Regions from separate parts of the Homo sapiens genome. Here region 1 is linked to region 2. The links are contacts of gene promoters, found by promoter capture Hi-C in human tissues and cell types (Jung and others, 2019). All regions are on one chromosome and are shown on one strand. Each heading gives the region's core, a stretch centred on a gene start or on the middle of the fragment in contact. The rest is flanking DNA. Distances are from core to core; before and after follow the strand shown.

Region 1 (7,375 bases), core at 1,026-3,525, 41 kb after region 2:
GTTTAATCTGAGGAAATGTGAGGCTAATGTAATGAGTTCGAGCCCAAACTTAGATGTCACCCAGAGTGACACAACACCAGAGAGCATCTGCACCCACTGACCATGATGGAGAAGGGAGAGGAATGTGGGGACATGGGGTTTCCCACATGAAATTCCAGCCCCAGCCTGCTAGAGTTCAGCCATTCAGGGCAAGGAGCCTGAAACCATTCTGTTGAGAGTAAGAAATCAAAGGAGGAAAGAAAGGGAAGGTGGAAAGAAGGGAAGAGAGTGAAGACCCCAGTGAAGGAAAGGGCCAGCAGCTGGGGAGGGGAGGCTCCAAGCCATTCTTTTGCACATTTCTTTTGCATATCTCTGCATAGTGTAGGTAAGACAGGTCAGAATTCCCCATCTCCAATGAATTCTCCATCAAGCCAACATAAACAAAAGATTCCCTCCTGTGGGTTCTTGGAGTCTAAAGTAATGCACTCAAACCAGTTAAACAGAAATCAAAACTGTTCTGGGAAGCCACGGCTTCTCTGACTTTGAGAGCTCTGCCAAAAACGATCTCAGGCAGGAAAGAGATCAAACCATCAGTTTCCCTTCTGGAGTTGTCTGGAGCTAAGATATTTGAGGACAATTACTGTTTTGGGGTTCAACTCCTCCTAAGGTGGCTATTCCAGGAACTTCAGGGCCAGTATTTCATCAAACACCTGTACTTCTCCCAACGTCCCTGATAATGCTCCGGTCGAACTTTCCTGAGGGTGTCTCAGAGCAGTTTTCCCAGATGGCTGTCAGCAGGGACTTCTCTGGCAGAATCCGGAACAGAATGACACAACCAGAGAACTTATGAAGGTTAAATCTGTTGAGCTGGAAGCCTCACAGCTGCAGATAGATGTGTTGGCAGAGCCATTAGCTGGGAACCAGCTCTGGTTGATAAGGTTATTCCCGGGGAGCCGGCATACAGTGAGCATAACGGGACCCAGCACTGGGACCAGGAAGGAGGCTGTCACCCTCCCTAATTAGCTCACCAGACACATGGGGTACCTGTACACGCCAACCCTGTATCCAATTCCCAATTTCAGGTCAAACAGGATGGAGACATTACTTTTTGTAGGAGATGATCAGGCAAAAAAAGTTACTGGAAGGTTCCCTCAGTTTACCTAGAGTCATCCCATCTAATGGGTGACCTTGAGTTCTATACCTTGTCTATTTTCTCTCTCCTCCTAACATAAAATGCTACAGAATGCATAATTTTCAATTAAAATAAATTTTATTTTTGCAACAGGATTACTTCATTTTAATTTACAGAACTCAGAGTGAACAGGTTCCAGTACAGAATCATGGAAATCTAGAATCGAGAGGATAATAGAAGTGGGTATTAACAACTGCATAGCTGTAGATTTTGTATCCATGGCATCCGATAAATTCACACAGAGGAAAAGTTCACTTCAGAGTTCTAAAATGTTATCCTTTGACTCCCAGAAGCATAAAAATGCAAGTTGGGCTGAAAACCCAATTTCAGGTACTTACTGATTCCTTGAAAGAGCTCTTCGATATTAATAGCATTTTTTGCACTTGTCTCAACCACGATGGCACCTATGGATTCAGCGTATTCCTTAGCATCCTTCAGGGGAACCTCCCTGGAAAAGAGGTCAAATGTAGACAGGAAATGAATGTTTGTTTGTAAAATACAAATCACCCAAAAGACCAGACAGCTTGTGCGGCAACAGCTCCTTTATCTTCTTGTAGAATAATAATTCAATCACTCAGCAAGAATGGACACCTAGTATGAGTGAGACTTTTTAAAGTTTAAAACCCAGTCTCTGGCATTCATGAAGAGAAGATATGCATATATAAAATAGTGTTCCTGCTCCCACAGAAGAATTCCAGAACAGCAGGGAAAACCATGACAAATATGGCAGTACACATTTCAGCTTTCAGAGCTACAGCTGATTTCAACTTTTTTCCCCATTACATGACTCAATATTAAAAAACACCAAACCTCTGTTAGTATGTTTGTGCACACATGCTTTTGTGAAACTTTTTACATATTATCTTTCACAAATCAGAGAAAATATGCAATGTGCTGTGACAGTTTGGAAACGAGCATGGTTATACCGACCATGGCTACAATACAGGATGGCATATCTGGACTTTCATCTGTAAAAGGATGTTCTCGCAAAGGTTTTAGGGCATGAACTCTATTTAAATGAACAATTAAAAAAATCTCCTCGGGAGGCTGAGGCAGGAGAATGGCGTGAACCCAGGAAGCAGAGCTTGCAGTGAGCCGAGATTACACCACTGCACTCCAGCCTGGGTGACAGAGCAAGACTCCGTCTCAAACAAAACAAAACAAAACAAAACAAAACAAAACAAAACAAAACAAAACTCACCTGAACGCACCTGATTTCATCTGATCTTGGAAGCTAGGCAGGGTCAGGCCTGGCTAGTACTTGGATGGGGTCTACGGCCATACCACCCTAAAAAAACCTACTGACCTCTTTTCAATGTGAAAATGCTGTGGTGGATCCAAAGATAAAAAAGATGCAGTTCCTATTCTCCAGCAGCTGCTGCATGCCAGTCCCTCTCCCAGGGGCCAGAGAAAACACAGGTTCTGCCTTCTGGCACCTGTGCTTTAGAACACAGACAAACAGGGCTCATCCAGGGGCACTCTAATCCACAACACTGCGACATAAAGTGCTTCAGGAGCAGAGGGGCAGGAAGTGATGTGTTCTGTTCAATAGACCCCAGGAAGATGCCCAGAGGTGGTCACCTTAAGTGTGGCCATGAAGGCTAGGCAAATGCAGGTCAGACTCTGGGATGGGACAGCCTGAGCAGAGGCCCAGAGACAGGAGAGTGCACACATTCCCGGAGATTATTAAAAGTTGATTCTGCACCCAGCACTGCTGGGGATGTTATGGCGGATTTGCAAATGAATGACACGGGCCCGAATGGAGAGAATGTCAGAGAGGTTGGAGCTGAGAGAGGGAGGCACACCATGTCTGTCTATACCCAGAGGCCACTGAAGGACAGGAAGTGACAGGGTCAGCTCCACAGTCTAGGAAAAAATGGTGCATAGAATGGATGGAGGTGAGGAGAAGAATCTGGAAGCTCCTCTAATGCTGCAGGCAAGAGTATCACAATCCTCGACCAGAAGGATTGCTATTGGAAAAGAGAAGGAAGACACAAAATCAAAACAGGGACAGAGAGTGATGGGAGAGCGCCCACCTCCCCGCCCCTTCCTCCACCTGCCCCAGAGCCTGTAAATGGCTTCAAGAGGTTTAAAGTTACCAAGGAAATTCTACTTTGGCATTCAAATTCCTATGGGACTCAAACCATATGCGGGGAAGACCCTTCAGTCCTAGCTGGAAAAGCGCCTGACTAGGGTCTACCATGTTAAAGGCGATGGCCCCAGCCTCTCAGCCAAAAGAAATATGTCCCTGGAGCCAAGTCAGTGGGCACCTGTGCTTCCAAACTGCAGGGAAAAGTACACCCCGACATTCACTCTCTTGTTTGTAACAGACAAGACCCAGGCCTGTCACAGGGATTATGCTGGAGTTTTTCTGGCAACAGAATTTTATATTTGAAAGATTACAGAAAAGTGCTTTTCTCTGTGCAGTTTGGCATGATACCTTGTTTTTTACTTCCTCCTGAAGTTTTTTTTTTTTTTTTTTTTTTGACAGTGTCTTGCTCTGTCGCCCAGGCTGGAGTGCAGTGGCATGATCTCGGCTCACTGCAACCTCCGCCTCCCGGGTTCAAGCAATTCTTGTGCCTCAGCCTCCTGAGTAGGTGGGATTACAGGTGCGCACCACCACACCTGGCTAATTTTTGTATTTTTTGGTAAAGACGGGGTTTCGCCACGTTGCCCAGTCTGGTCTTGAACTCTTGGCCTCAAGTAATCCGCCTGCCTCAGCCTCCCAAAGTGCTGGGATTACAGGCTTGCACCACTGCGCCCAGCCTCTTCCTGAAGTCTTTATCAAAGCACAGATAAAGGGTGGGGCTCATCTCTGCCCACAATGGGGTGCAGGAGGAGATGTCACCTGCTACCCTACTGGGGGTGGGGTGAGGAGCACCTGGCAAGCAAGGATGCCTCTGGGCCCGCAGGTGAGAGGAAATCACATTCACAGGTGAAGCACTTCCTCAGCCCCTCTAATCAGTCCAACTGCAGGACAAGAAGGAGCGGCACAGGTTCACTAGGCTTACAAAAGAACAGTTATCATGTACCACAGCCCAACATCTCCATCCTTAGGATGACCATGGCCAAGAGGCTAATTCCTTCACAGTCTACAACATAAATATGGAGATGGGAAGATAAGAAAAGCACACCCTCAGACTCCTTCCATGGCTAGAGGTGAGTCTCATTAAATCATCGGCCTGCCGAAGTGACATGCCTAATGAGAGGTGAGACAGGGCTTAACCCAAACCCGTGACTCTGTCCACCTCACTCCTACAGGGCTGCAATGGCACAAGCACCCACCAGCACCACATGCCAGAGGCTGTTATTTCCATCTTGACAGACACATGTGGGGCTCAAAGTGTTTCAAACTGTCACATGCACTGCAGTTGGGGTGGGGCGGGGCAGGAGCCTACTCCATCCTCCTAAAGAACAGGTGCTTACAGGAAGAATCTGGAGGGCCAGTGAAAGTCCCTCCAATGTGAACTAAGATTAGAACGACCAATCACTCTTGAGTCTGCCAAAATATGCTCCCATTACTGTGGCATAATAAAAAAATACAGATTCGGTCTTTGCCCTGGTTCCCGGCACAGTTCTCCCCAAACCCTCAGAGTTTCCTGGGTGATAGGAGTGTCTTCTGGTATTCTTGAAGAGCCCCTTCAGCCATGACTGAGTTTGATAGCGTGTGGCCCTAGACCATCCTGTGGCCTCTTCAGGATGAGCCTGGTTGCTGGAGGAATCAACCACATGGTTAGAGGGTTGAATCTTTCAGCCCCAACGCCAGCCTCTGGGGCTGGAGATTTAATCAATCTTCATTAGTCATCTAAGTAATGAAGCCTCAATACGAACTATTGAACACAAGGCTTGAGAGGGTCCGGGCTGCTGAGCACACTGGTGTGCTGGGAGTGCTACCCCTGAGAGGCTGGAAGCTCCTTGTCCCACTCCCACCCCTCGCCCTCACTATCTCTTCCATTTAGCTACTCCTGAGTTGTGTCCATAACAACAGAACTGTATGTCAAATTAATATTATAGGAGGCCTTTGTTTCGGGCCTAAGCTCCTGCATTAGGCCCCATGAGACCAGACTGAAAATAAAAGTAGTCACCCATGCTTAAGTTCCCCTTCACCAAACCCAAACTAAGTAGTTATCTGACCTTCTGAGAAGTCACAAGAGGTAACAGCCAATTTCCCAAATAGGCCAGCTGAAATCTTCAGTAGCCATGGAATGCAGTTCCCTTGGCTTTAATCCTTACATGACATGTTAACTCATCTGATATTCCATCGTTCTGTTTCCCCGTCCCTCCCTCTGCCTGTCCCCCAAGAAAAGTATCTTTGAAACGACTAGCAGGCTACTGTTCCTTGTTCCTGCTTTCTTCAGCCCTTCTCTGTCTATAAAGCCAATCCCCTCTGCTCAGCCCATGGGAACACTTATTCTATTTTATGGAATGATTTGTTGCCAGTTCTAGAATCATGAATAAAGCCAATTGAGATTTTTTTTTTTTTTTTTTTTTGAGACAGAGTCTCACTCTATCGCCCAGGCTGGAGTGCAGTGGCGCCATCTCGGCTCACTGCAAGCTCTGCCTCCCGGGTTCACGCCATTCTCCTGCCTCAGCCTCCGGAATAGCTGGGACTACAGGCGCCTGCCACCACGCTCGGCTAACTTTTTGTATTTTCAGTAGAGACGGGGTTTCACCATGTTAGCCAGGATGGTCTTGATCTCCTGACCTCGTGATCCACCCGCCTCAGTCTCCCAAAGTGCTGGGATTACAGGTGTGAGCCACTGCGCCTGGCCCAATTGAGATCTTTAAACTAAATTTGGGCCATGCACAGTGGCTCACGCCTGTAATCCCAGCACTTTGGGAGGTCAAGGCAGGAGCATCGCTCCAGATCAGGAGTTCATGACCAGCATCAGCAGCATAGCAAGGCCCTATCTCTACAAAAAATAGGAAAAATTAGCCAGGTGTGATGGTGTGTGCTTGTGGACTCAGCTACTCAGGAGCTACTGAGATGGGAAGATCGCTTGAGCCTGGTGAGTTTGGGGCTGCAGTGAGCTATGATTGTACCACTGCACTCTCGCTTGGGTAACAGAGTGAGATACTGTCTCTAAAGAATATTTAAAAATAAATTTGTTGTAATTCCTTCCTTTGACAGTAATCATAATTCCTTCCTTTGACAGTACAGTGCTTTCCTGAGTTCTGTGAGTCCATTCTAGTGAATTACTGAATTTGAGGAGAGGTCATAGGAGACCCCAAATTTGTAGTCTGTTGGGCAGAAATGCAGATAACTTGGGGATACCAGAAACTTGCAGCTCTAGTCTGAAATGGGAGGCAGTCTCGCAGTATTGCACTCTTAACTTGCAGGGTCTACACTAACTCCAGGTAGTCAGTGTCTGAATTGAACTGAATAGTAGGACATCCAGTTAGTGTCAGATAAATTGCTGTCGGAACAAATGGTGTGACTACAATCTGTGAGGAGAGTTTTGCGAAGGTGAGAATTCACTTCCCAGAATGTCTTGCAAACATGTAAAACTGGGAACATTTGAGAACTCCAGCTGCACTTCAGGAGAGGCCACTGCACAGACCCATGATGCAGAAAGGCTGCCACCACAGGCCTCCCGTCATTACGATTATGGGAGGGTACGGCATCCCGTGACTTTTGTTTATTTTTTTTCAACAAGTGTATAGGGTTTACTATATGCTGGGCATTGTGCTAGGCGTTGAAACAGGTAAACTGAAACGAGTTCACCCAAGCCAAGGTATAAACATGCAGAGAGTTAGTTTTGACGGTAAAGACTATTTTTAGACTTTCTAGACCAATCTATATGCAGAAATCACTGAGAATTACTACGACTGCAGGAAGTGTGGATGCAGATCCCCCCAGGCCAGCCCTGTCCCCTGGCTGCTCCTTCACAGACATTCCCGGAGCTGATCATAGTCTGCGTGGCCCATCAATGTCAGCATTACTCAGGGTTTCTTCTCTGACTGTCTGAAGCACACCCCCATCCCAAAGCAGCAGCGGTGGCCAGCTCCAGTCAGGCTGAGTGGTGAGGATGGAGGGTGGAATTCAGAACCCAGCTGGAGTCCCTCCTGAGCCGCTGCGGGATGGGGAGGGCGGGAGAAGTGGGAAAGCTGGAGACCGCAGGAACGGCTGCGGGACCACAAAAGAGACCAATCAGGCTCAGGTGATGGGAATGAAAGCACTGAGTCAGGATGAAGGATAGGTGA
Region 2 (6,626 bases), core at 3,996-6,495:
CTGGGTACAGTGGCTCATGCCTGTAATCTCAGCACTTTGGGAGGTCTGGGTGGGAGGATCTCTTGAGATTAGGAGTCTGAGACCAGCCTGGGCAACATGGCAAGATGCCAACTCTACAAAAAAATATATATTTTTAAATTAACCAAGCGTGGTGGCTTTATCTGTAGTCTCAGCTACTTGGGAGGCTGAGGCAGGAGGATCACTTGAGCCTAAGACCATAGTGAACTATGGTCATGCCACTGCACTCCAGCATGGGCAACAGAGTGAGAATATGTCTCAAAATTAATTTAAAAGTGTTGTGAGGCTCACTAAGTTATCTAAACAGGACTCTGGTAGCACAATGTTTGGGTTAACTGGTTAAAGTCTAGGCCTATATGTCTAGGCTGGTAGAGTCATGTTGAAGCTAACCTTGTTCATTATGGAAAATAAGAACAAATTTGATTGAAAAAGTCAGAAGAAGGTCTCTCTATCAGAGGGAAATAACAGGTGGATATATGCACTGTCACTAAAAGCCCATTTCTATGAAAATGCAGTACACCTGAATCTAGAATCCTCTCGTTGAAAAGCCCTTTGCCATTATGGCTTCAGCTTTTACTGAAGAGTCTTACCAAGAATATCCACATGAAAAACTGTCCTGAATTTATTATAGAAAAATCTTGTCAAGAACTTCGTTTATCATCGAAGTCTCAAATGTAGTGTCCAAGATGAGAAATGTCATTCAGGAATTTAGTTAAGGAAAAGCTTTGACTCTTTTGCAAATTCCTAAGCCTGCTTATTTTGGGTGATGACATCTGGGTATTATTGAATTTATCTCTTCTCTCTCACTTGCCAAGAGTTCAGAACAAAATTTGCTGCTCTAACAGAGCCATGATACGAGCCCACAGAGTTGACACGTTACTCACTTCATGGCTCTGATTCCTCTTTCTGGTTCGTTAGCTTTATCATTAATCCTTTTGTAGGCAATTCCAAATTTTTTTGGAAAAAAGGCCAAGCATATAAGGTATTTCATTTTGTTTGCAGTTGTTAGGCCATTGTTAAGGGTGCAAATGAAGCCTATAACTGAGGTACCACTAAGGAGAGTCACGATAGGCACATGATGGAAGGAGATGGGGCAGTCTTGGTCCTCTTTTTTTTTTTTTTTTTTTTTGAGACACAGTCTCACTCTATCACCTAGGCTGGAGTGCAGGGGCACGATCTCAGCTCACTGCAACCTCTGCCTCCCCGGTTCAAGTGATTCTCCTGCCTCCTCAGCCTCCTGAGTAGCTAGGATTACAGGTACCTGCCACCACACCCGGCTAACTTTTGTATTTTTAGTAGAGACAGGGTTTCACCATGTTGGCCAGGTTGATCTCGAACTCCTGACCTCAGGTGATCCACCCACCTTGGCCTCCCAAAGTGCTGGGATTACAGGTGTGAGCCACCGCGCCCAGTCCCAGTCTTGAACTTAAGATAGGGATTGCAACTCAGCTGGCTAAGTGAAGAAGCCAGCCAGGTTCTGCAGCAGAAGACTGGAGAGAGTGCGCCCTATCAGATGGAGGCAGCTGCCGCTCAGACCCGAAGGTTAGATTGGTTTTCTTGAGGTAAGGCAAGCCTGGATTGCCAGATCTTACAATTTTTCAAGAAAAGCTAGACATCTAGATTTTTTTTTTAAATCCTGATATTTGAAATGTTGGCAACAAATTCAAATTTTTAAAAACACTCTGGACCAGCAAAAAGTAGAATGGTGACTGCCAGAGGGTGGGGGAAGGGGCAACGGGGAGTTGTTCGATGGGTGTTAAATTTCAGCCACACCGATGAGTAAGTTCCACAGATCTGCTGTGCGGCATCATGCCCCTAGTTAACAGTACAGTACTGGGCACTTAAAAATGTGTTAGGAGAGTAGATCTGTTAAGTGCTTTTACCATGATAGTAATAACAATAAAGCACAGTGACACAAGGAAACTTCTGGAGGCAATGAAGGTGTTAATTACTTTGATGGTGGAGATGGCAATCAAGGGCATATGCAACACATCCAAACTCATCCAACTCCCTCCATTAAATATGTGCTGTTCTTTGTATATCAATTATACCTAATGAAGCTGGTTTTATTCATTTTTAAAAACCCACTCTGGACTAAGCCTCTGTCTATGGTTCAGACCTGGGACTTTGGGCTCATAGACATCTGGGGCTCACTAAGTTGTCCAAACAAGACTCTGGTAGCACTGTGATTAGGTTAATTCATTAAAGTCTAGGCCTATATGTCTAAGCTGGTAGAGTCATGTTAAAGGCTGGCTTGTTCAATATTGAAAATAAGAACAAATTTAAGTAAAAAAGTCAGAGGAAGGTCTAGGTATTATGAACTCAATTACCAGGGAGACGAACCAGGAACTCTGCCATCAGGGCACTGATGTCATAAAGGCAGCAAAGATCCAGAGGACTTCAACCTCCGAGAAACCTGAAGTTCCGACCTCTTGTCTGAGATTTTGTGAGCGTAGATTATAGTAGGTAGAGCCCTGGACTTGAAATCTGGAAGCGGCCTTGATCTCATTTCCGTCACCAACAAATCAGATCTTGGAAAACCCACTGAATTTCCCAAGGCCTCCGTAGCACTTCCGGCACAAGAAGGAGGTTAGCTAAGATGTGAATCTTTCAAATTCCTTATTTCCAAACATATCTTATCAGAATCCCCAAAGATGTGTGACATGAGAAAAGAAGTTTCCATTCACCTTTCAGTCATCTACCTCTATAGAAAAATTATCTAAATTTTCAGTCTTGCTGCAAACACTAAATGCGTGAAATTTTCAAAGACAAGTGAAAAATAAATACATATCAAGATTGAAAAATAGGAAACCATGGGACTTAGCAGTCTTCACCATGGGAATTTCTAATTTTATACTCTCCCACTAACAGAAACACAGTCGCAATGTACTTTAATGCTTGGACTGTTTTTTGAAAAGGGTAGAGTTAATATTATCATGTACAAGCAGTGCCATTTGGACATACACTTTTGTTATACCTGATCACTTTGTGTAAATAATAAAAGAGAACTCAAAAGCTATAAACACCTGACTGTCTGCAATGTTTTCAGAATACATGTTTACTTTAATTCTGCAATGACTGCTTCAAGTTTTTCCTTAAGGGCGCCGCAAAGTTCATCCACCTTTTCTTCTTTTTTATAAAACTGAAAGGTTGGGACACACATGATGGCGCACTCTCTCACCACCTCCTCACAGTTGTCAGCGTCCACCTCCAGGAACACCACATCCTCATGCTTCACAGACAGGGCATGGAAGAATGGTCTGATGGTCCTGCAGGGCCCACACCACGTGGCCGAGAAGTCCACAGCCACCAGCCTCTCCCCGGCCTCCTTCAGTGATGCCTCAAAGTCCTCCTTGCTCAGGATCACTTTCACCTTGTCCCCCTCCGGGAACTCCATTGTTTCTTCTTCAGGCTTTAGGATGTCACCCTCCTTGGATGGGGTGGCTTCTTCTAGGGACTTGGGGCTGTCATCCTCCTTGGGCTGGATGGTTTCTTCTGGGGACTTGGGGATGTCAATCTCCTTGGGTGGGATGGCTTCCTCTAGGGACTTGGGAATGTCACCCTCCTTGGGCTGGATGGCTTGTTTTGGAGACTTGGGAATGTCACCCTCCTTGGGCTGGATGGCTTCTTCTGGGGACTTGGGGATGTCACCCTTCTTGGGCTGGATGGTTTCTTCTGGGGACTTGGGGATGTCACCCTCCTTAGGCTGGATGGCTTCCTCTAGGGACTTGGGGATGTCACCCTCCTTGGGCTGGATGGCTTCTTCTGGGGACTTGGGGATGTCACCCTCCTTGGGCTGGATGGCTTCCTCTAGGGACTTGGGGAGGTCACCCTCCTTGGGCTGGATGGCTTCTTCTGGGGACTTGGAGATGTCACCCTCCTTGGGCTGGCTGGGCTTCACTGAGGCCTTGGGAATATTGCCCAGCTTGGGCTGGATGGGCTTTGCTGAGGACTTGGGGATGTCACCCTCCTTGGGCTGGATGGTTTCTTCTGGGGACTTGGGGATATCACTCTCCTTGGGCTGGCTGGGCTTCACTGAGGTCTTGGCAATATTGCCCAGCTTGGGCTGGATGGGTTTTGCTGAGGACTTGGGGATGTCACCCTCTTTGGGCTGGATGGCTTCTTCTGAGGACTTGGGGAGGTCCTCCTTCTTGGATTGGATGGTTTCTTCTGGGGCCTTGGGGATGTCACCCTCCTTGGGCTGGCTGGGCTTCACTGAGGCCTTGGGAATATTGCCCAGCTTGGGCTGGATGGGTTTTGCTGAGGACTTGGGGATGTTACTCTCTTTGGGCTGGATGGCTTTTTCTGAGGACTTGGGGAGGTCCTCCTTCTTGGATTGGATGGTTTCTTCTGGGGCCTTGGGGATGTCACCCTCCTTGGGCTGGATGGTTTCTTCTGAGGACTTGGGGCTGTCATCCTGCTTGGGATGGCTGGTGTTTGCTGAGGACTTGGGTAGGTCATCGCCCTCCTGTGAGGCATCAGACTCCTCTGTGCGCATGTGGAACGTGTGGCTGACCATGGGGAGAAAGGCCTTCTCTTTGGCCTGGGCTATTTCCAAGAACTCTAGGGCCAGGAGAGGCACGTTGCTGGACAGGACTAGTAATGAGCTTTCTGTACCAAAAAACATAAAATAAAATAAAATAAAATAAATCAAATAGAAATGCAAAAGAAGAACCAAAGAAATTCTCTTCATATTCCAAGGAAGACTGATGTCACTCTTCGAGATCACGAATGAAGTCTGATGAATGATGTATTAATCTGAAAAACTCATTCAGCAGAAGGACAAACAGCGTGTGGTTACACGTATCTTCTGTATACATGTTCTTAAGCTACAACTTTCCCTTCTTGGTTCAACACCCTGCCCGCTCCCTAACTGCATAGGTCTTTAAGGCAACCCTCTTTCCTCCCCTACTTACCATTAGCATCACCTTCACTTGTTTCTTCCTGAGTGCCCAGCCTCATTTCTGGTTTTCCAGAGGCTCCAGCTTTAACACTTTCCATTCCTAGTTCCTTGTCTACATCCATTCCTGATCCTTCATAGATGCCTCATAGTAAAGGCCGTACCCTCCAACTTTTTCCAAGCTATCCATCCTAACATCAAAATATGAGTAAAACTTACATTTGGGTGGCACGTTACAGTTGGTTTTCCCTCTCTGTATTCACAACAGTGATATTTGAGAGCTTCAAGGTGGCTCCCCTGTGCTGAGGCTGGGACTACGCATTCACTGGCATCATTTCCTAGAACACAACAAACCACTGAGGTCAGAACCATTATGATGAGTAGTTTACACATGAGAAGCTATGTAGCTCACTTAAGGTCACAAAGCTAGGGTGGGGGCAGGCTCCAAAGCTCATGCTCTGCACTGTGAGGCTGTGCTGGACTGCTCGCCACAAGTCCCGTCCAGCCTGGGTTCTGTGAATCAACCATCTTATCATCTTTCTCCAGGATCCCCCAGCTCCAACATTCTCTTTACGACTCACCCATTGTGACCAGCTCCTAAGTATCTCCTCGAAACCATGTTAGCCTCCTCTGCAAAGTGTCCCACAATGTCAAATGTTCAGCTCCTGCTAGACAGCCTCTTTCCCCACCTCCCCCACCTCCCAGGCGCACCAGCCCAGCCTGTGCCCTCCCCCATGCAGACACATCCAAGTACACGGCTCTTCCAGCCTTTACATACAGGAGAACAACCTCTTTGTGAATAATCCTGGTTCCATAAGCCACATCTACCCCATCCTGTGGAATGGGAAGCCAAATACCTGTCCCCCAGGGAGACTTATTTTATTAGTTCAGGACCACTGGCTCATTTTCCACCCTCACTCTGCACAACACATCCAGTCCAAGGCAGGAAGAATCAGTGTGGAATTTTGCCTTCTCTACATGTACTTTGAACAAATCCTCATATGTTTCAGTTTCACCCCAACAATATAAGTGTTGAAAGTGGTCAGGCATGGTGGCTCACACCGTGATCTCAGTACTTTGGGAGGCCAAGGTGGGAGGATTTCTTGAGCCCAGGAGTTTGAGATCAGCCTAGGCAACATAGCAAGACCCCATCTCTACAAAAAATACAAAACCTAGCCAGGCACAGTGGCACACGCCTGTCCCAGCTACTTGGGAAGCTGAGGTGGGAGGCTTGCTTGAGCCAGTGAGTTCAAGACTGCAGTGAGCCGTGATCACTACATCGTACTCTAGCCTGGGCAACAGAGCAAGGCCCCGTCTCTAAAAACTAAAAATAAAAGTGTTGAAATCTAAATGATAAGACCTCCACATTGTCAATAGAAACCTCGAAACATCTAATGGCAATGGTTCAATTATCTGGATTTTTATACCAAAACACATTTTACTAAGGGGTAGAGAGACTATTGGCCTTAGCAAATCCATAGTTCCTTTTTTTTTTTTCTTTGAGACAGTCTTGCCCTGTCACCGAGGCTGGAGTGCAGTGGCACAATCTCGACTCACTGCAACCTCTATCTCCCAGGTTCAAGCAATTCTCTTGCCTCACCCTCTCGAGTAGCTGGGATTACAGGCATTCACCACCACACCCGGCTAATTTTTGTATTTTTTTTAGTCGAGACAGGGTTTCACCATGTTAGCAAGGCTGGTCTCTAAC

Evidence for each region. The method cuts DNA at HindIII sites, captures the fragments that hold promoters and counts their contacts. A contact is called where the count stands out against the background at its distance.
Region 1: a fragment that was not itself captured here is called in contact with the fragment with the promoter of TXNDC2 in region 2 in 5 of the 25 tissues and cell types used here (adrenal gland, dorsolateral prefrontal cortex, heart left ventricle and 2 more).

The regions. Positions count from the first base shown.
Region 1 is chr18:9,839,826-9,847,200 of GRCh38, reverse strand. It overlaps RAB31 (RAB31, member RAS oncogene family), which reads right to left. Exons shown (of 7, transcript NM_006868.4): 6 at 1,510-1,619. It also overlaps the pseudogene RNA5SP449. Among named protein-coding and RNA genes, the nearest start is that of TXNDC2, 42 kb to the left of the region's middle. The HindIII fragment of the contact is 5,768 bases long and covers 1-5,159 here.
Region 2 is chr18:9,884,592-9,891,217 of GRCh38, reverse strand. It overlaps TXNDC2 (thioredoxin domain containing 2), which reads right to left and starts at 5,245. Exons shown (of 2, transcript NM_032243.6): 1 at 5,138-5,245; 2 at 1,943-4,629. The coding sequence starts at 4,537. The coding sequence ends at 3,077. The HindIII fragment of the contact is 24,551 bases long and covers 1-6,626 here.